4 separate regions of the Homo sapiens genome follow, and all the other regions are linked to region 1. The links are contacts of gene promoters, found by promoter capture Hi-C in blood cells and fetal thymus (Javierre and others, 2016). All regions are on one chromosome and are shown on one strand. Each heading gives the region's core, a stretch centred on a gene start or on the middle of the fragment in contact. The rest is flanking DNA. Distances are from core to core; before and after follow the strand shown. Region 1 holds the start of IRAK1 (interleukin 1 receptor associated kinase 1). Region 2 overlaps BCAP31 (B cell receptor associated protein 31). Region 3 overlaps TKTL1 (transketolase like 1). Region 4 overlaps PLXNB3-AS1 (PLXNB3 antisense RNA 1).

The links. Contacts are between HindIII fragments. The CHiCAGO score rates a contact against its expected background, and 5 or more counts as called.
Region 2: a contact is called between a fragment that was not itself captured here and the fragment with the promoter of IRAK1 in region 1, in 2 of 17 cell types (non-activated CD4 T cells and fetal thymus). The highest score is 6.1, in non-activated CD4 T cells.
Region 3: a fragment that was not itself captured here is called in contact with the fragment with the promoter of IRAK1 in region 1 in 8 of 17 cell types (M0 macrophages, monocytes, total CD8 T cells and 5 more); the score reaches 9.4 in M0 macrophages.
Region 4: a contact is called between a fragment that was not itself captured here and the fragment with the promoter of IRAK1 in region 1, in 2 of 17 cell types (non-activated CD4 T cells and activated CD4 T cells). The highest score is 7.0, in non-activated CD4 T cells.

Annotation. Positions count from the first base shown.
Region 1 is chrX:154,018,652-154,021,288 of GRCh38, forward strand. IRAK1 (interleukin 1 receptor associated kinase 1) reads right to left here and starts at 1,251. Exons shown (of 14, transcript NM_001569.4): 1 at 1,026-1,251; 2 at 780-947; 3 at 546-677; 4 at 324-427; 5 at 1-136. The coding sequence starts at 1,161. It overlaps MIR718 (microRNA 718), which reads right to left and starts at 1,338; the gene lies at 1,269-1,338. RefSeq lists silencers at 621-690, 701-800, 1,151-1,530 and enhancers at 1,216-2,185, 2,301-2,370. The HindIII fragment of the contact is 4,941 bases long and covers 426-2,637 here.
Region 2 is chrX:153,718,328-153,720,964 of GRCh38, forward strand. It overlaps BCAP31 (B cell receptor associated protein 31), which reads right to left. Exons shown (of 8, transcript NM_001256447.2): 3 at 2,545-2,637. Among named protein-coding and RNA genes, the nearest start is that of BCAP31, 4.7 kb to the right of the region's middle. The HindIII fragment of the contact is 5,559 bases long and covers 1-2,637 here.
Region 3 is chrX:154,301,154-154,303,790 of GRCh38, forward strand. The region is part of intron 1 of TKTL1 (transketolase like 1); the gene reads left to right. Among named protein-coding and RNA genes, the nearest start is that of TKTL1, 6.7 kb to the left of the region's middle. The HindIII fragment of the contact is 3,860 bases long and covers 1-2,637 here.
Region 4 is chrX:153,758,736-153,761,372 of GRCh38, forward strand. The region is part of intron 2 of PLXNB3-AS1 (PLXNB3 antisense RNA 1); the gene reads right to left. Among named protein-coding and RNA genes, the nearest start is that of PLXNB3, 4.2 kb to the right of the region's middle. The HindIII fragment of the contact is 6,541 bases long and covers 1-2,637 here.

The DNA of each region.
Region 1 (2,637 bases), core at 1-2,500:
CGCACCCAAAGCCACCCTCCCCGATCTTGAGCTCCTCCGAGAAGTTGTGGGTGCCCCGGGAAATCTCACAGAGGGGCCAGCAAAACGGAAAGGGGCGGGCTCCCTGCAGGAGGGACACTGAGCTCTCTGGGCCTGGCTGTGGGAAGAGAGCCTGGATCAGGTGGGGTCCCTGTCTCTTCCCTTCTGCCCAAGGCTCCAGGCTCTCCCCACCACAGCTGCCTCCCAGCTGACCCAGCTTGGCTGACTGGGGCTCTGCGCTACATCAAAGGCTGAATTCCTTCCTCCTTGTCTCGAATCTTCCCTGGGGGGCAGGGGACACCTACCTTGGTAGAAGAAGGGGCTGGAGATGGCGGTGGAGGCCACAGGGAAGCAGGGCTTGGGACCAGGCCGAGCTCAGGCCCTGAATGGGTCTGGGAGCCTGGAAAAGCTTCATAAAGACACCAGTGAGAGGCAGGCAGAGACCAGCAGCAGGGTCTACAGCCGTGGCCGTGGTCAAGGTGGGCTCTTCTTTGGGTCCACCGAGCCTAACAACCGGGCCCTCTTACCTGGGGAGAGGAAGGTGGAGGCTGAGGATGGCAACTTCCGGGGGCTCCAGGCCTCGGCCTCGGCGGGTGCAGGGATGCTGCTGGGCCTCGGGGCAGTGGTGCCTGGGGACGGAAGCGGGGCGGGAGGGTGCCCTGGGACGCCAAGGAAGGAAAGGAAGGTTGAGGCCCGGGTGGGGGAGCCCCGTGGGGCCCGCCGGCCTCCCAGCCGTGGGGTGCCCGGAGTCCCGCGCTCACAGGCTGTGATGATGTCCCGCGCACGGAGCAGCTGCAGGTGCGTGAGGATGTGCACGAGGTCGGCCACACGGGCGTTGCGGTTGATCCAGGGCCACAGGACGCTGGCCGTGCGCTGCCCGGAGCGCTCGCACAGCCGCAGCTCGGTCTGGTCGCGCACGATCAGGGCGGCTGCGGGGCGGGGGGCGTCAGGCGTCGGCGCCAGGAGCCCGCGCGCCTCCCGCCCCCCGGCAGCCCGCCGCCACCCACCGAACTGGCACCAGTCGGCGGGCTCCAGGGCGTCCATCACTTTGTAGAAGCGGCACATGACCCAGGGCGGCACCTCGTACAAGAAGTGCTGGGCGCCGGGGGCTGCGGGCTCCCCCGGGCCCGGCCCCCCGGCCATGGCTGCCGCCGCCGGGCCGGGACCTGCCGGGGCCTCTCAGGGCCGCGGCGGGCGCGGGCCTGGGCCGGCCGGGTCCGCGGACACTGACTCACTTCCCCTTCGAGCCGGCCTCGTGCGACGCCCGGCGGGGCGGAAGGGGCGGTGCCCGGGCCCGCCGCCATCTTGCGCGCCGCGGCCGCGCGCTGGGTCACACGGGGGCGCCCCGCGCCGGGGAGGGCCCGGGTCCCGGCGGGTTCCGCGAGCGGCGATCGGCCTCCCGGGCTCGCCCGGGCGGGGCTCTGGAGGACGAACGGCGGCTCCCGGCGTTGGGGACAGAGGGCAGGGCGGAGGCCCGGGCTGCTCGGAAAGGGGCCGGGGCCGGGCCTTCCGAAAGCTCCTGGGCGGCCCTGCCGGAACCCTGCTCTCCACTGCGGCCTGCAGGGCTGTTACCAGGAGCCCTGCCTGCCCGCCCCACGTCTAGCCCCCTGCACACGGCAGCAGCCTTGAGCCATTCAGTCTCCTTAGGTGTCCTGAAATATGCCGAGAACGCTGCCCGCCACAGCCGTGAGTGTATGCGTTGCTGCTGCCCCAGCCCTCATTTGGCAAGGGTGAGCTCAGGCAGCTGTGGTGAAGGCTTCCTGAGCCCGCCGGCAGAGCTCCTGCCACCCCGTACCTGTCCCCTCCTGGGCATCGTCCTTGATTACTTGTCTGGACCGCCACCCCCGGTCCCCGCCCTGAGATGGGGAAGACCCCACAAGCAGCAACGCAGACTTACTCTTTTGTTTCTCCAGCTGGATGTCTCCTCCAGCGACAGTTCCCCTTGCCCTCTTGATCCTGACAGCGAAGGGGTTCCCCACCCCTAGCCCTACAGACTTAGGACTTTTCCTAGAAACGAGAAGTGCCCAAGGCCCACAGCTGGCCCCTGTTGGAGTCTCTTTCCTGAAGCCACCACCACTGTGGCCACTCCCAAGGAAGATGCCAACCATACCATGAAACCCATGGCTTCTCACGGGACAGACTTTACTGAGATGTACCAACTCAAGTATCTGAAATGACTGCACACCCATGCTAACCTCCACGGGGGCACTTGGTCCTACTTACACACAAAGGCCCATCAGCTCACGGAACAGGGCTGGCATACGAGATGCTCAATGCATACAAGTTGACTTTTCAACCCTGGGATCTACCTTTGAAGGCCAGGCCTTCCGAGGGTACCTTCTAGCATGTGCATGTGAAGCTGGACTCCTTTGAGCAGTTGTCTCCTCCAGCCCCTTACCAACCTGGTGAGGCTGCTCCTGAGAGCCAAGGAAGCCAGTAACAAGGGGGCCCCCTTTGGGCAAACCCCTCAGCCTGCCCTTGCCTGGTCAGAGAACCACGTTAGCAGTCAACAGAGGGCACGTGAGGGTCCTGGCCAGAATGAGACACAGGAGGAGCCACAGCCTGCGGGGGTGGGGGTGTCCAAAAGCACCACAGCACATCCAGACCTAGGGGGTGCCC
Region 2 (2,637 bases), core at 52-2,551, 300 kb before region 1:
AAAAAAAAAAAAGATGTCTAACGTGCAGCAGGTAGAAAAAGCACAATCCAAAGTATTGGCTAGGCTCTGCTATGGACAGCAGTCTTATCTCAGAGCTGTGCTACCAGCTCAGGCGTGGAATGCTCCTCCTGCCATGTCCCAGCAGGAATGTGGAAAGAAACATAAATACTTTGTGTGTATGATCCCACCGTTGTAGACATTTTATTAAAGATGTCAGCATACAAAACCCCTCTGGAAATGCACAACAAAATACTCATGATGGTTACCTGTGGGAAATGGGATTATGGGGAGTTTAACTTTCTAAATTCAACTTTTGAATTTTTAAGAATAATTACCCATTATTTTTGTAATCAGAAAAACAAGATAAACATGTTTCCTTACACTGTCACCTGCATCCAGGAACCCCACCATCCTAAGGACCACCTTGGCCAATGACCAATAGTGGGGATGGGGGACTGAGCAATACTAACCCAAGTCCCACAGTAGAAACCAGCCCTCCCTGTCTCGGGCCTCAGCCCAGGTGGGAAGATCCTGCACCCTCAGCAACTCCATCCTCCAGGAGGATCTGCTCAACCCTCCCCACCCCCAAGCAAGGCCACAGCTCTAGCTAGTTATGCCCCTTACCCTTCACTAGTACCTGTGACTAACACTTCTGTTTGAAGAAGGCTCTGCAGATCTTTCTAGATTATGCTTCTTAACATGGGAGTAGGAAGCAGCCAGTCATCATGGCCATATGTCCCCCTAGAACTTCCAAGCAGTTCCCCGATCCCAAAAAAGAATGAAGGCTTTGTCAACTACTGGATTCCGCAAAGGATCTCTCCAGCCCACTCAGCTGCTCTAGGAAAGAAACATACTCCTTCTGGTTTGGGGAAGGGGCAAGACCCTGAGGGAATCATCCTCAGCATGGTCCCTCCCCTCCCCAGTTATTACCCCCACCCCAGACCCAAAAGCCAAAACACACATGCTCAGTTCAAAAACTCAGTGGCCTGGGGATGACACATATATTACCTACCTACTCCTGGCTTGGAGGCTGCTCAGGGCGAGAACCCTGGTTAGAAAGAGCTACTACCTCTTGGGGCCTTGCCAAGTATTTCAAGAACACTGAGGTGCTCAGGCAGCTGGCACCTACCCTATGTGGTTGGAAGCTGTCAGGTAACACTTGGCCTGTTCAGAGGCAGTCCAGCCTGAACATATCCTATCAGGCTCTGAGACATCAGGAAGGAGAAATGCCTAATGCTGAAGCTGGTGGGTGAGGCTTTGCACATTCCCCTGAACCACAGCCCCCCACCCGCTCAGTGTTTCTGCTGGGACTCGGTGGGAGGAGTGTTCCACGCCTAGGCAGGCACCACAGCTCTGAGACAAGAGTGGTGTCCACAGCAGAGCCAAGCCAATACTTTGGAGCCCAAACAGGGGGACATATCGATCACTTACCACAGCAAAACAACAAACATCTACCAGTCAGACAAGAGCTTTATTGATTCTTGTCTCCAGATGGTCACCCTACCACCTCATTGCAAAATGTCTGCCTTTCATCTTACCACCACCTGGCCTGGCCTTATCCCAGAGCCTGCTTGCCCTTGGACCAGTTTATCTTTCAAGCACCTGCTAGTGTACACCTCAATGTCAGAGTTTACAGAACTACAGAGCTGGAACGACCTGGGAAAACCTCAAGTCTAGCCCAGATGCAGAGAGGTCTAGGATCTCTCCCCAAGATATGCTGCCACACATCTCTGTGTTCTCCTCCTACTACTACAGGGAATGGCAGGACTTCACTGTGTGCTTGGTTGCTCAGTCCCCCATTAGAGGCCCTGCTCCAGGCAATTCTGCTGTTTAAGTGACTGGTGAGCAGCACTACTCAGACCAAGGTCACAGGCCAGTTAGCTTCTCTTGGCTTCAGTTCTAGAGTGACCTGAGGAGCAGCCTCAGAAACCTTAGGCGTCCCTCCTTCCAAGGTCTTGAAAAAAAGCAATGTAAGGTGGCCGTCATAAGCTGCATACAAACTGCTTGGTATAAGCCCACGCCCACTGCTAGAGGGGCCTCTTTTTTTTTTTTTTGAGATGGAGTCTCCCTCTTGTTGCCCAGGCTGGAGTGCAATGGTGCGATTTAGGCTCACTGCAACCTCTGCCTCGTGGGTTCAAGCAATTCTCCTGCCTCAGTCTCCCAAGTAGCTGGGATTACAGGTGCCCGCCACCACGCCCAGCTAATTTTGTATTTTTCGTAGAGATGGGGTTTCACCACGTTGGCCAGGCTGATCTCGAACTCCTCATCTCAGGTGATCCACCGACCTCAGCCTCCCAAAGTGCTGGGATTACAGGCATGAGCCACCATGTACGGCCTAGAGGGGCCTCAAAGTGAAGAACCGACTAGCGGTCAGCAGCATGGGCAAAGGGAGCCTCTTCCCTCCCTCAAGAGAAAGACACAGCATTTCATTGGTCTGTCTCCTAGCAGCCAAAACTGGATGCTACACATCAAAAGTGGCAAAGGGTTTTGCAGCAGAGACCAGGGTCTAGGTCAGGTAGCTGCCCTCAGCCATAGCTCACTCACCGATGACCAACAGCACAAGGATGACAATGAGAACCACAAAGAAGGTGTTGCCATAGGACACTAACAACTCCACCAGCCGGGACTTGAAAATCT
Region 3 (2,637 bases), core at 101-2,600, 280 kb after region 1:
CCATCTATTATTGATTTCTAACCTCATCCCATTGTGGTTAGAGAAAATACTTAGTGCAATATGTTTTTTTAAATCTTGTTGGCCAGGCGCGGTGGCTCATGCCTGTAATCCCAGCACTTTGGGAGGCTGAGGTGGGGTGGATCACCTGAGGTCAGGAGTTTGAGACCAGCTTGGCCAACATGGTGAAACCCTGTCTCTACTAAAAATGCAAAAATTAGCCGGGCGTGGTGGTGCACCTCTGTAATCCCAGATACTTGGGAGGCCGAGGCAGGAAAATCACTTGAACCCGGAAGGTGGAGGTTGCAGTGAGCCGAGAGAGTGCCACTGTACTCCAGCCTGGGCAACAGAGTGAGACTGTGTCTCAAAAAATAAATAAATAAATCTTGCTCCAGAGCCTGGGCTAGATAGTAAGAGGACAGTGTGGATGCAGTTAAGAACCATATATGTCTGAATTTTTTGTACATGTTCATTTTGTTCCCTTCACCTTCAAAATTAGTAACAGATGGCTGCATTTTCTCAAGGGATCTGTGTGGCTTTTAAATCTAAATCATCCACTTACAGGACATTTGCAAAGCAAGAGGTTTTAGTCCCCATTTTCTTTCTTTTTTTTTTTTTTTTTAGTAGAGACGGGGTTTCTCCATGTTGGTCAGGCTGGTTTCGAACTCCCGACCTCAGGTGATCCGCCCACCTCGGCCTCCCAAGATGCTGGGATTACAGGCATGAGCCACTGTGCCCGGCCTAAGTCCCCATTTTCTTTTTTCTTTTTTTTTTTTAAATGAGACAATTATTTATTTTAGGCAGATAGTCAACTTAAAAATCATTCAGCGTGGGCACTCCTGAAACTGTCAGGATCATGTTGGTTTCCTCGCTGTTTGCCGGCTATTGGCATTTGTGTCATCACACACAGTCCGATGAGGTGACAACAGAAAAGCATATCTCACTTCTATCGTAGGTTTCCATTCACTTTCGGGTTCTCAATCGCCCTGTGTTTCCTCAGTGATACTCCAGACTTTCCAGATGTTCTGGTTGACCCATTCCTCTTTCTTTTTTTTTTGCAAAACAAAGCAAAAAGCAAGAAGAGAACTTTACATTTTGTCCAATAGTCCTAAGAAATTTTCCCTGTAGAGAATGTCATCTAAGTCAAAACAAGGGTTGAATAGGGGCACCCAAATCAGTTATCACTTAGGGCTGTTATAAGAAATGCCAAGACTGGGTGGCTTAAACAGCAGATATTCGTCTCTCACTGTCTGGAGGCTACAAATCCAAGATCAAGGTGCTAGCATGGTCAGTTCTGGCGAGGACCTGCTACTGGGCTCAAGAGCACTACCTTCCCCCCCGTATCCTCACATGGTCGGTCTCCAGCCTCTTCTCATAAAGGCGCTGATCCCATTCATGAGGGCTCCACTCTCACAGCGTAATCACCTCCCAAAGGCCCTGCCTCCAAATACTGTCACACTGGCATTAGGATTTCAGCATAGGAATTCTGGGGGGACACATTCAGTCCATGGCCTCCCGTACCTGTGAATGTGATCTTATTTGGAAATAGGGTTTTGTAGGTGAAATTAAGTTAAGGATCTTGAGATAAGATCATCCTGGACTTAGGGTGGACCCTAAATCCAGTGACTAGTGTCCTTATAAGAGAAAGAAAAGAGAGATTGGAGACACACAGACACCGTGGAGAAACGCAGGAGAAAAGGTCCTGTGAAGGCAGAGAGGCAGGGACGGGAGTGACCCAGCTGCAAGACGAAGAACACCTAGGGCCAGCAGTAGCTGGAGAGGCAGGGGCGAGGGCGATCCTCCCCTAGGACCTAGGGAGAGAGCGTGGCCCTGCTGCCACCTGGATTCTGGATTTCTGTTTTGAGCCATCACGTTTGTGGCAACTCACCCTGGCAGGCTTAGGAAACGAATGCGTTAACCCATTGCATTAGCGCACAAAATAACACCCTGACTCGTTTCCTGCGCCAGCCTCCTACCTTGCCTTCTACTTATTAGACCCTACCTCTCATTCCCCATTTTTTAAAATTTTTATTTATTTATTTATTTATTTATTTATTTATTTATTTATTTATTTATTTTGAGGCAGGGTTTCACTCTGTTGCTCAGCCTAGAGGTGCAGTGGCGTGATCATGGCTCACTACAGCCTTGACCTCCTGGGCTTAAGCAACCCTCCCACCTCAGCCTCCCAAGTAGCTTGAACTGCAGGTGCATGCCACCCTGCCCAGCTAATTTTTTTTTTTTTTTTTTTTTTTTTTTTTTTTGGAAAGACGAGGTTTCACCATGTTGCCCATGCTGGTCTCAAACTCCTGGGCTCAAGCAATCCTCCTGCATCATCCTCCAGAAGAGCCGGGATTACAGGTGTGAGCCCCCACGCCTGGCCTCTCCCTCCTTTTTATCATTCCCTCTTCCCTCGTCTTCCTTGGCTTTCCTCCTCACACCTCCTGCGTTTGGCCCCCTTCCATTTTCTTTTCTGCTTCTCTTTCCCAACTTCCCCCTCATCATGCCAGGGGGACTCCTGGGCTGCGTGCCACCCCCCTGGAAGTCCCCCATAATGAAGCAGGATTTATGCCTCACACTTCACCATGGGAGAGCAGAAACCTCTCACTTGAAGCAAAAGGCACTGAAAATAAGCAAATAGTT
Region 4 (2,637 bases), core at 37-2,536, 260 kb before region 1:
AATTGACTCAAAATAGAATGATTCATCCTAAATTCAGATAGAATCTCAAGGGGCTCCAAATAACCAAAACAATTCTGAAAAAGGAGAACAAAGTTCGAGGACTCACACTTCCTGATTTACAAAATAAAACATATTACAGTGTGGTCCTGGCATAAAGACAGAGACAGAATATAATCCAGAGCCCAGAAAGAAACTCTCAAGTATATGGTCAGATGATTTTTGACAAGGGTATCAAGGCTACAAATTGGGAAAAGGGCAGTCTTTTCAACAAATGGTATAGGGGAAACTTGATATCCACATGCAAAAGAATAAAGTTGGAGGCTGGGCATGGTGGCTCACACCTGTAATCCCAGTGCTTTGGGAAGCCAAGGTAGGAGGATTGATTGAGTCTGGGAATGGGAGACCAGCCTGGGCAAAGTAACAAGATCCCATCTCTACCAAAAACATTAAAAATTTGAGGCTGAAGCACAAAAATTGCTTGAACCCGGGAGGCAGAGGTTGCAGTGAGCTGAGATCACGCCACTGTACTCCAGCCTGGGTGACAAAGTGAGATCTGTCTCAAAAAAAAAAATTAAATTAAAAATTAGCTGGGCATGGTGGTGAATGCCTATAGTCCCAGCTACCCAGGAGGCTGAGGCAGGAGAATTGCTTGAGACCAGGAGTTTGAGGTTACAATGATTATGCCACTGCACCCCAGCCTGGGCAACAGAGCAAGACCTGTCTCAAAAAAAAAAAAAAAAAAGATGGCAAATTTTGTGTTATGTATTTTTTCCCACAATAAAAAAATTACTCAAGAAGAAACAGAAAACCTAAATGGTCCCATAATTATTACAGAAGTTGGATTCATTGTTTAAAATCTATAGGGGGACAGGCAGGAAGCTACAAAAACAAGGAAGGCCAGGCCAGATGCGGTGGCTCATGCCTGTAATCCCAGCACTTTGTGAGGCCGAGGCAGGCAGATCACCTGAGGTCAGGAGTTCAAGACCAGACTGGCCAACATGGCGAAACACCGTCTCTACTAAAAATACAAAACTTAGCTGGACGTGGTGGTGCATGCCTGCAGTCCCAGCTACTCGGGAGGCTGAGGCAGGAGAATCGCTTGCACCCAGGAGGCAGAGGTTGCAGTAAGCCAAGACTGTACCACTGCACTCCAGCCTGGGCAACAGAGTGAGACTCTGTCTCAAAACAACAACAAAACAAAACAAAACAAAACAAAAAAAACAAAGAAGAGAAAAGAAAAGAAACAAAACAAAAAACAGAAAATAAAAAACAAGGAAGGCCTAGATGGTTTTACAGATGATCTCCAGCAAACATGGAAGTAACTGATCATCTCCATCTTAGACTAACTGTTCCAGTGAACAGCTGAAAAAGGAAATACTGCCTCAACTCACTTTACGATGTCTTGATACCAAAACCAGACGAGGATAATAATACGAGGCTAAAAAAAAAAAAAAAAACCACCCAATCCAGAATTGTATATGAAAAAAATACATCACGCAAAGTTGAGTTTAGTCCAGAAAATACAAGAGTGGTTTAACATTTAAAAATGAATTAATGTAATTTGCCACATTAACAGATTAGAGGAGGAAAACCCTGTGATCATATTAATGCATTCAGAAAAAGCATTTTATAAAAATTCAACATATAGCACACTAGGAATGGGAGGGAGCTTTCTAAATCTGATAAACATATCTACCGAATGCTCCCTGCAAACATCATACTTAATAATGGAACACTGAGAATGCCTCCTATGCTTTTTTTTTTTTTTTTTTTTTTTTTTTGAGACAGAGTTTCGCTTTTGTTGCCCAGGCTGGAGTGCAATGGCTCGATCTTGGCTCACCGCAACCTCGGCCTCCTGGGTTCAAGCGAGTCTCCTGCCTCAGCCTCCCAAGTAGCTGGGATTACAAGCATGGGCCACCATGCTCGGCTAATTTTTTTGTATTTTTAGTAGAGACAGAGTTTCTCCATGTTGGTCAGGCTGGTCTCGAACTCCTGACCTCAGGTGATCCACCCACCTCGGCCTCCCAAAGTGCTGGGATTACAGGCGTGAGCCACCATGCCCAGCGCCTCCTATGCTTTCATTCAAAGGAAGTAAAAGCAAGAGAAAGCAAGTCCAGGGAAGTAAAGCAAGGAAACGAAATCAGCCGGGCACAGTGGCTCACGCCTGTAATCCTAGCACTTTGGGAGGCCAAGGCAGGTGGATCAGGAGTTCCAGATCAGCCTGGCCAACATGGTGAAACCCTGTGTCTGGTAAAGATACAAAAATTAGTCAGGCGTGGTGGTGGGTGCCTGTAGTCCCAGCTTCTTGGGAGGCTGAGGCAGGAGAACTGCTTGAACCAGGGAGGCGGAGGTTGCAGTGAGCCAAGATTGTGCCACTATACTCCAGCCTGGGTGACAGAGCCAGACTCTGCCTCAAAAAAAGAAATCAAAGCTAAAAAGACTGGAATAGAAGAAACAAAATGGTCATTACTTGCAGATGATAGGATTGTGTACGCAGAAAATCAAAAAGAATCCACAAAGAGAACCCAAACATAATTATTAGACTTAATATGAGAGTTTACAAGGTTACTTGATACATAGAAATCCATTGTTTTTCTATGTACCAGCAACACACAGTCTGAATGGGAATTCAAAAGA